Linked DNA regions of Homo sapiens: regions 1 and 3 are each linked to region 2. The links are contacts of gene promoters, found by promoter capture Hi-C in blood cells and fetal thymus (Javierre and others, 2016). All regions are on one chromosome and are shown on one strand. Each heading gives the region's core, a stretch centred on a gene start or on the middle of the fragment in contact. The rest is flanking DNA. Distances are from core to core; before and after follow the strand shown.

Evidence for each region. The method cuts DNA at HindIII sites, captures the fragments that hold promoters and counts their contacts. A CHiCAGO score of 5 or more calls a contact.
Region 1: a fragment that was not itself captured here is called in contact with the fragment with the promoter of MED24 in region 2 in 1 of 17 cell types (erythroblasts); the score reaches 5.6 in erythroblasts.
Region 3: a contact is called between a fragment that was not itself captured here and the fragment with the promoter of MED24 in region 2, in 16 of 17 cell types (total CD8 T cells, activated CD4 T cells, total CD4 T cells and 13 more). The highest score is 10.7, in total CD8 T cells.

The regions. Positions count from the first base shown.
Region 1 is chr17:39,984,567-39,987,751 of GRCh38, forward strand. It overlaps PSMD3 (proteasome 26S subunit, non-ATPase 3), which reads left to right. Exons shown (of 12, transcript NM_002809.4): 3 at 2,009-2,146. It overlaps LOC124904000 (a long non-coding RNA gene), which reads right to left. Exons shown (of 3, transcript XR_007065751.1): 3 at 2,132-2,216. Among named protein-coding and RNA genes, the nearest start is that of PSMD3, 5.4 kb to the left of the region's middle. The HindIII fragment of the contact is 2,333 bases long and covers 250-2,582 here.
Region 2 is chr17:40,052,782-40,055,666 of GRCh38, forward strand. MED24 (mediator complex subunit 24) reads right to left here and starts at 1,627. Exons shown (of 26, transcript NM_014815.4): 1 at 1,580-1,627; 2 at 688-854; 3 at 517-599. The coding sequence starts at 817. RefSeq lists an enhancer at 1,827-1,886. The HindIII fragment of the contact is 3,100 bases long and covers 510-2,885 here.
Region 3 is chr17:40,158,561-40,161,661 of GRCh38, forward strand. All of the region lies in intron 3 of CASC3 (CASC3 exon junction complex subunit), which reads left to right. Among named protein-coding and RNA genes, the nearest start is that of MIR6866, 1.8 kb to the right of the region's middle. The HindIII fragment of the contact is 7,918 bases long and covers 1-3,101 here.

The DNA of each region.
Region 1 (3,185 bases), core at 166-2,665, 68 kb before region 2:
ATCTTATTACCTGTGGTAGCATGAGGAGAGAAGCCAAAGCAGTCCATTTGAATACTCATCTGCACAGTGACAAGGGAACCGTCCACTGCCCTGTAGTGTCATTCTTCAAAGTCAGGGGATCAGGACCCTCCCAGCCAAACTCATTTCCCACTACCCTGCAACCTGTACCCCCTACTCCAGTTGAGGTTGCGTTGGGTGACCTCTCTGTTGTTCTAGGAGAGAGAAGGTGCTGCTGCCTCTTTCTTCTGAAGCTTCACCATGGAGGAGGTAGAGAACAGTGGTTAGGAGGAGCACAGCTGTCAGGGCCAGGCACAGTGGCTCACACCTGTCTTCCCAGCACTTTGGGAGGCTGAGGCGGGCACAGTGGCTAACATCGTCATCCCAGCACTTTGGGAGGCTGAGGCGAGCAGATCGTTTGAGTCCAGCCTGGATTCAAACAATCTGCCCGCCCAGGAGTTTGAGACCAGCCTGGGCGACATGGTGAGACCCTGTCTCTGCAAAAAGTACAAAAATTAGCCAGGCATGGTGGCACCTGCCTGTAGTCCCAGCTACTCGGGAGGCTGAGGCAGGAGGATCACTTGAATGCAGGAGGTGGAGATTGCAGTGAACCAAGATTGCACCACTGCACTCTAGCCTAGGTGACAGGGTGACCCCCCTACCTCAAAACAAAACAAAAAAAACCCCACAGATTTTAGAGGTAGAGTTGAATTTGAATCCAAACCCTGACAGTTAGTACCTGTGGGACTTGGGCGAGTGACTTCATTTTGCTGTGCCTCGTTTTCTTCATTTGTTAAACGTGATGAACGGATTGGGAAGCGGGCAGTATAAAGCTCCTAGAGCAGTGCCTGGTACGTAGTGAATGCAGACGAAGTCAGTTTGGTGGTGGTGGTGGCGCCTCCGTGCCAGGAGAGACCTCTCCTTATCCTCTGTAGCTGTAAACTCTCCCTCATGATTCATGGCATGGGCCAGGTCTCAGCCTTCTCCAATTCCACTGACCTTCCAGCACCTGCATTTCCTTAAAATCCTGTATACTCAGTCAGCTCCGTGGATGGGGAAACTCAGAACATCCCTGGAGGCAGGGCAGTGAAGAGTTTCTTGTCTGGGAAAGGGGAAAAGCGTACTGTTCCCCCAACTCCACCTTGAATATTTTCTGACCTTCACATCGCTAAACTCACGAAACGTGATTATTTTGGGGGTGACTGTAACACATTATTTTTTCCAGTGTCAGTGACAACATAGGAAAATATGTTTTGTTTATATGTTGACTTTCCCTAAATTTTCTTTGTTCCCACAAGAAACCATTTTTTGGTCTCATTATTCTGATTTCATCTCTAGAATTATTTCGTTCAGCCCTGTCCAGTAGTATTTGCAGTGGATCCAGGTGTGGTGGTTTAATGTCTCCACTTAGGTTGTAGCCTCTTTGAAGGTTCCTTACATCGTCCTTTGTCTCCATTATGTTGTGTAAAGAAATTTTTTGTTCTCCTGTAACACTTTATTGTGTTTATTAATATTATATTGCCAGCCTCCTTGACTTGTTTTGTTTTTTTGAGATGGGGTCTTGCTCTGTCACCCAGGCTGAAGCACGGTGGCACACTTATGGCCCAGTGCAGGCTCAGACTCCTGGTATCAAGCAGTCCTCCTGCCTCAGCCTCCTGAGTAGCTGGGAATACAGGTGCATGCCACCATGCCTGGCTAGTTCTTTTTTATTTTTTGAGAGATGGGGTCTCACTGTGTTGCCCAGACTGGTCTCAAATTCCTGGCCTCAAGCATTCTCCTGCCTCAGCCTTCCAGGTAGCTGGCACTACCGGCGTGAGCCACCACACCCAGCTCCTCCTTGATTTCTTTGGGAAAGACTGTAATCTTTATTTTTTTATCCCTAGCACCTAACAAAATCTTGGCACATGGTAGACACTCAATAAATATGTTGAAATACATAGTGGATGCTCAATAAATTCTTGGTTACTTGATCAGACTGAGCTTTTCCATGGTAACTTCTGTCCTCTCCTAGCCCATGGACACAGAGGCTGATTTACAGTTCCGTCCCCGCACGGGAAAAGCTGCGTCGACACCCCTCCTGCCTGAAGTGGAAGCCTATCTCCAACTCCTCGTGGTCATCTTCATGATGAACAGCAAGCGCTACAAAGAGGTATCCAGGATGCAGTGAGAGCGATTCATAAGCCCCAAGTGATGCAAGGGGTTTGGCGGGGAGATGGTCCCTGGTGAAGAAATGGAAATAATCATTGATTCTTAAGAACTGTCCCCCACACTCTTTCCCCATAGAGGTATGCGTTTGATCCCACATCCCAGGAGAACCCACTCTTGCTCTGGGCACTGTGGGACAGGGCTTGCAGTGGTCATGCTGTACCGGTCTGTGGGGGATACCAGCGTAGTACATTCTTGGGGAAAAGTAGGGGCATTTGGAGACAGAAAGACCTGGGTTCCAATCCCAGCCATACCCTAGGCAAATTAATTTCTCCCAGCTATATGTAAGATGGGGATAATAGTGCCTACCTTACAAGATGGTTAGCGTTACATAAAATAATTTGTTTAGAAATACTTAGCGCAATGATCTGCATATAGTAAGCTTTCGTGATATTTTCATAAATGGTAGCTGTTATTATGGACTAATAGCTCCATTTGCAAACTGCACTTCTACCACTCCCCCAGCTAGGGCCAGCTTCTTTGTTCATCATAGCCACTGTCACAGGAGCACACTCAGGAAGTAAGTCGCACTCCTTAATTCCCTGGTTTGTTTCCTTTCCTTACCACACTATTTTTGGTTGTTGTTTGGTTGGGGGTTTTTTTGAGATTGGGTCTTGCTTTGTTGCCCATGCTGGAGGGCAGTGGTGTGATCACAGTTCACTTGACCTCCCCGGCTTAAGTGATCCTTCCACCTCAGCTTCTTGGGTAGCTGGGACTACAGGCATGTGCCACCACGCCCAGCTAATCTTTGCATTTTTTTTGTAGAGACAGGATTTCACCTTCTTGCCAAGCTGGTCTCCAACCCCTGGGCTCAAGTGATTTCCTGGGCTCAGCCTCCCAAAGTGTTAGGGTTACAGGCATGAGCCACTGCGCCTGGCCCACTGTTTTGTTTTTACTGGAGATGGGGTCTTGCTATGTTAACCAAGCTGGTCTTGAACTCCTGGGCTCAGGTAGTCCTCCCGCCTCAGCCTCTCATGTAGCTG
Region 2 (2,885 bases), core at 377-2,876:
GAATGTAATATTCATCACAACAAATGAAGTATTATTTTTATGAGAACACTGAAACTCACTGAAATGATCTGTTCAAACAGATCAATCTAGAATCTTACTCTTTCATCTAGAAAGAGTAAGCTGACAATTGTACAACTGCACCCCAAATTGTGTTTGTTTGTTTCTTTCCTGAGACAGGGTCTCACTCTGTTGCTCTGGCTGGAGGGCAGTGGCAGGATCATGGCTCATTGCAGTCTCGACCTCCCAGGGCTCAGGTGATCCTCCCACCTCAGCCTTCCAAGTAGCTGGGACTACAGGGGCACCACCACGCAGGGGTAACTCTTTGTATTTTTGGGTAGAGACTGGGTTTTGCCATGTTACGCAGGCTGGTCTTGAACTCCTGGGCTCAAGCAATCCGCCTGCCTCAGCCTCCCACAATGCTGGGATTACAGCCATGAACCACCGGGGCCCAAATGCACTCCAAGTTTTTTACCCCCAGAACTCTCACTTCTTGGTGGGGGTTTGCGGGAAGCTTACCTGGGAACTAATGGCATACTTCAGGTAGGACAAGATGAGAGGATTGGGGGATGGTCCAATCATGGCCTGCTCTAGTAACGCATCTGCAAGAGGAATAGCAAAACACAACTGAGTGATTACAACTTCTCTGGGTTTATCCCTCCCATCTTTCTTTCCCAGTTCACTTGAGACCTGCCAGGTTGAGAATATCCCAGGTGGCTCCTTTAGGAAAGAATTTCTTCATGTTGATTGCCCATTGGTAGTCACTCCAGCGCTCCTTCCAGGCTTGCAAAATGGCTTGCTTCAGGTTGACCACCTTCATTATTTCACTCTGAGCAGGTGGCAGCGGTGGCGGCCAGCTTTGAGGTGAAAGAAATGGAGCTAAAGAAAAGGACATGAGGTTCTAAGGAGAACCGGGGAAGGCAGAATTAAATAGAAAGGAGAAGATGCGGGAAGATTTAAGCGAGACAGAGGAATTTGAAAGAAAAAGAGCTAAAGGGATAAAGTAAGATCCTGTCAGACTCTCTCCTCCTGAACCGCCCTTCCTTAAACTGGGGCACTAAGAAAGTATCGGCCGAGCGCAGTGGCTCGCACCTGTAATCCCAGCACTTCGGGAGGCAGAGGCGGGCGAATCACCGGAGGTCAGGAGTTCGAGACTAGCCTGACCAACATGGAGAAACCTCGTCTCCACTAAAAATACAAAATTAGCCGGGCTTGGTGGTGCATGCCTGTAATCCCAGCTACTCGGGAGGCTGAGGCAGTAGAATCGCTTGAACCCGGGAGGCGGAGGTTGTTGGGGTGAGCCGAGATCGCACCATTGCACTCCAGCCTGGGCAACAAGAGCAAAACTCCGTCTCTCAAATAAATGAATAAAGAAGTATCAAAGGGACTAATAGATTAAACAGGGCATCAAGGAGTTAAGGCAGTCCTGGTTGCCTAATTACGCCCTTAGCTCTAAAAGCGTCCCTTGGCCACCACCATTCCAAGTCCAGATTTGCTCCCTCATTTCCTCCACCTTCTCCAGCCCTGTAACTATACCTCCCAATTTCCTTTTCATCCACCACCTCCCCAAATTTAAGCCTACCGCACAATCCAGTTCTAGGTGGTAGGCATCGCCATTTTGGCACTTGTCAAGAAGCTCACTTTCTATTGGCTGGGAGTAACAAACGCCAACCAATAGAAATGCAGCAAGGAACGCCCCGCTGTCTTCTGGGAATGGTAGTTCCTTGGACTGAAACCGTATTTGTCTGCGCCGGCGAGGAAACTAAGGGACTCGTCTAGTCGGCCCGCATTGTTCTTCTCCTTTAAGGGAGGACATCCAGGAGCTGAGGCACTACAGAGACTCAGGGACTCGAGGGAGCTCGAAAGGCCGCTCACAACCCGGCGTCGCCCACGACGTCACTGTCGACCGGGCTTCTCCATCATATTCCGACACCCTTTCATTCGTTAGCCCCTAGTTAGTAGGTGCGGCAAGGGTGTGGCGTGGGGGCAAGGGTGTGGCGTTCAGCAATAAGGTCTTTCTCCTTTCCTGGGCTCTTTCTGTTCTCCTAAGCCCCTGGAGCTACCAGAGCTATTCTCATTTCCACAACTATATTCTAAAAGCGACACCGAGGTGCCTTAGTTGCACACATATCACCGTCCCCGAATCTTACAGTCCTATCAGAATCTCCAGGCCCTCCATACAGCTTGGATACAAGGGAAAGTAAAGAGGAAACTAAGGTGAAGGTGATCAAAATCAAAGGAATTCTGAGAAACTGTCACAACTAAGAGGGCTAAGGAGACCTGATGACTAAATGTAATGTGGTTTTCTGAATGCGATCATGGAAGAGAAAAAGAATACTGGGTAAAAACTAAGGAAATCTAAATAAAGGGTGGACTTTAATTAATAATAATGTATCAATATTAGTTCATTAGTTGTTACAAATGCATAATACTAATGCTAAGATGTTAATAAAAAGAGAAATTGGGTGCAGAATATGTGGGGACCCTCTATTACCTTCCATTTTTTTCCTGTAAATTAAAAACTTGTTTTTTTAAGTTTCTTGTTGTTGTTGTTGTTGTTGTTGTTTAAATCTTGCTTATCCCAAAGATCCATATATAAATTATGCCCAGGGCTTTGGCCATAGCCTTTCCTTCCCCCAGTGAGAAACCCGAAAGCAAATGTTACCCACCTCTGGAGGCTCCAATGTCTGAGCCTTCTTATGCATAGCCCTCATCCCTCCCCATGCTATGGACTGGTCATCCCTAACATTTACAACCAGGAATAAGAGTAAATTACTCGGGAGGCTGAGAAAGGAGGATCACTTGAGCTCGGGAGTTCAAATCCAGCCTGGGCAACATAATGAGACTCTCAGCTCTACCAAAATACATAAATAAATAAACATGGAGGC
Region 3 (3,101 bases), core at 182-2,681, 110 kb after region 2:
CTGCCTTTTCCTACCTAGAACTAGCCACACGTCCATTTCCTGGCCCTTTCTAATGGCCTAATGATCCTTTGTGTGTAGACCCAGCACTTTCTGTGTCATGAACAGTGTTACCCAATCTTGATGTGGTAAAAGAGGGAAGAAGATAGTAAAAAGAGAGAGAGAGCACTTGGACTAATTTTTTTCATTTCTGAAATGTGATGGTTGTACAAGTTGTCCTTTAAGGTTTTTTAGGTCAAATTTTTGTAATTATGTGATTCTGGATATGTTCTGGCTGCAGGAATTTTCTGCTGCAGAAAACCAGTACTCATAGGCATTAAAAAAAGCTACCATTTTCCAGCTTGAGGATAAGTGCATTGGGAAATCATGGAGTCATTATCAAGAGTTTGCACATCTGGTTGGGCGCAGTGGCTCATGCCTGTAATCCTAGCACTTTGGGAGGCTGAGGCAGGAGGTTCGCTTGAGCTCAGAAGTTTCAGACCAGCCTGGGTAATGTGGTGAAACTCTGTCTCTACAAAAAATACAAAAATTAGTTGGGCATAGTGGTGTACATCTGTAGTCCCAGCTACTTGTGGGGGCTGAGGTGGGAGGATTACTTGAGCCCAGGAAGTCAAGGCTATAGTCAGTTGAGATCACACCACTGCACTCCAGCCTGGGCGACAGAGTGAGACCCTGTCTCAAAAAAGAGTTGCATGTCTACTCATTCAGTTCTCATTATCTATAGACTAAAATATACATCTCCCCCCTTATGTACTACTATTTTTGAATATATGTAAATTAATAAAATGTAAACTTAAAGTGTTATTGAATGTATAACAGTTTGTTGTTTTTTGTTTGTTTTTGAGACAGTCTCTGTTGTCCAGGTTGGAGTGCAGTGGTGCGATCTCGGTTCACTGCAACCTCTGCCTCCCAGGTTAAAGTGATTCTCCCGCCTCAGCCTCCTGAGTAGCTGGGACTACAGGCACGCACGCATCAGTTCATTGTGTGTTTTTTTTTTTTTTTTTTTGAGACAGGATCTCTCTCTGTTGCTAAGACTGGAGCGCAGTGGCACAATTATGGCTCACTGCAACCTCTACCTCCTGGGCTGAAATGATCTCACACCTCAGCCTCCCAAGTTGCTGGGACTATAGGCGCACACCACCATTCCTGGCGAATTTTTTTTTTTTTTTTTTTTTTTTTGACAGGGTCTCACTCTTTTGCCCAGACTAGTATCAGTGGTGCAATCTTGGCTCACTGCAACCTCCACCTCCTGGGTTTAAGCAATTCTCTTGCCTCAGCCTCCCAAATAGCTGGGATTACAAATTCATGCCACCATGTCTGGCTGATTTTTGTATTTTTAGTAGAGACAGGGTTTCACCATGTTGGCCAGGCTGGTCTCAAACTCCGGACCTCAAGTGATCCACCTACCTCGGCCTCCCAGAGTGTTGGGATTACAGGCGTGAACCACTACATCCAGCCTAGCAGTTGTTTGTCATTGTATGTTTTCTCAGTGAATATCTCATGGGGATCCATGAAAATTTTTAGATCCTAAAAAGGGGTCCGCATAATCAAAAAGGTTGGGAATTTCTGCTCTAAGCCATTTTGAGATGGGAGAGTTCACAACTTACGTCAAAGTATAGTTATTAGGCACTGCATGTTTAAGAGACAATTCATGGGCCAGGTACAGTGTTCATGCCTGTAATCCCAGCCCTTTGGGAGGCCAAGGGAGGAGGATTGCTTGAGCTCAGCAGTTTGAGAACTGCCTAGGCAACATAGCGAGACCTCGTCTCTACTAAAAATAAAAAAAAATCAGCCAGGTGTGGTGGCATGTGCCTGTAGTCGCAGCTACTTGGGAGGCTGAGGTGGGAGGATCACTTGAGCCCAGGAGATTGAGATTGCAGTAAGCCATGATTGTGCCACTGCACTCCTGGGCAACAGAGCAAGACCCTGTCTCAAAACAGAAAAAAAAAAAAAGATAATTCATGGAGAGAGAGATTATCAAGGAAGATTAAGCTCCTCTTATATGTTAGGTATCGTATAGTAAGTCTCCCTTCCATTCTTATCCTCTGGGCCCATTAGAGGCTGCCGCTGTTTTTTTGTTTTTTTGTTTTGCTTTTTCGAGATGGAGTTTTGCTTTTGTCACCCAGGCTGGAGTGCAGTGGCACAAACTTGGCTCACTGCAACCTCCGCCTCCCGGCTAATTTTTGTATTTTTAGTAGAGACAGAGTTTCACCATGTTGGCCAGGCTGGTCTCGAACTCCTGACCTCAAGTGATACGCCTGCCTCGGCCTCCCAAAGTGCTGGGATTACAGGTGTAAGCCACTGCGCCCAGCCTGCCACTTTTAATAATTCTTGCATATGTTCCAGGAATACCTATGTGGATATATATGTATGTATGTGTGTATTTTTTTTAATGTGATATTTTTAAAATAGTGTCTTTTTTTTATTATTACTATTTTTTGCGACAGAGCCTTGCTCTGTCGCCCAGGCTGAAGTGCAGTGGCGCAGTCTCTGCTCACTGCAAGCTCTGCCTCCCTGGTTCAAACGATTTTCCTGCCTCAGCCTCCCGAGCAGCTGGGATTACAGGTGCCTACCACCAAGTGCGGCTAATTCTTATATTTCTAGTAGAGATGGGGTTTTGCCATGCTGGCCAGGTTGGTCTCACACTCCTGACCGCAGGTGATCTGCCTGCATTGGCCTCCCAAAATGTGATTACAGGCGTGAGCCACTGTGCCAGGCCAAAATAGGATCTTTATTTTCTAGAAATATGGGTAAGAATATTGATTTGTTTGCTTTTCAGTTCTATGTTGTACTAAAAATTTATTGATAAATGTATTCCTAAAGAGTAGAAAATTGAAATGCAGCCAGGCACGGTGGCTCACGCCTATAAACCCAGCACTTTGGGCGGCCAAGGCAGGCAGATCACGAAATCAGGAGTTCAAGACCAGCCTGGCCAACATGGTGAAACCTGGTCTCTACTAAACATACAAAAATTAGCCAGGCGCGGTAGTGGGCGCCTATAATCCCAGCTATTTAGGAGGCTGAGGCAGGAGAATTGCTTGACCCCTGGAGGCAGAGGTTACAGTGAGCTGAGATTGTGCCACTGTATTCCAGCCTGGGTGACA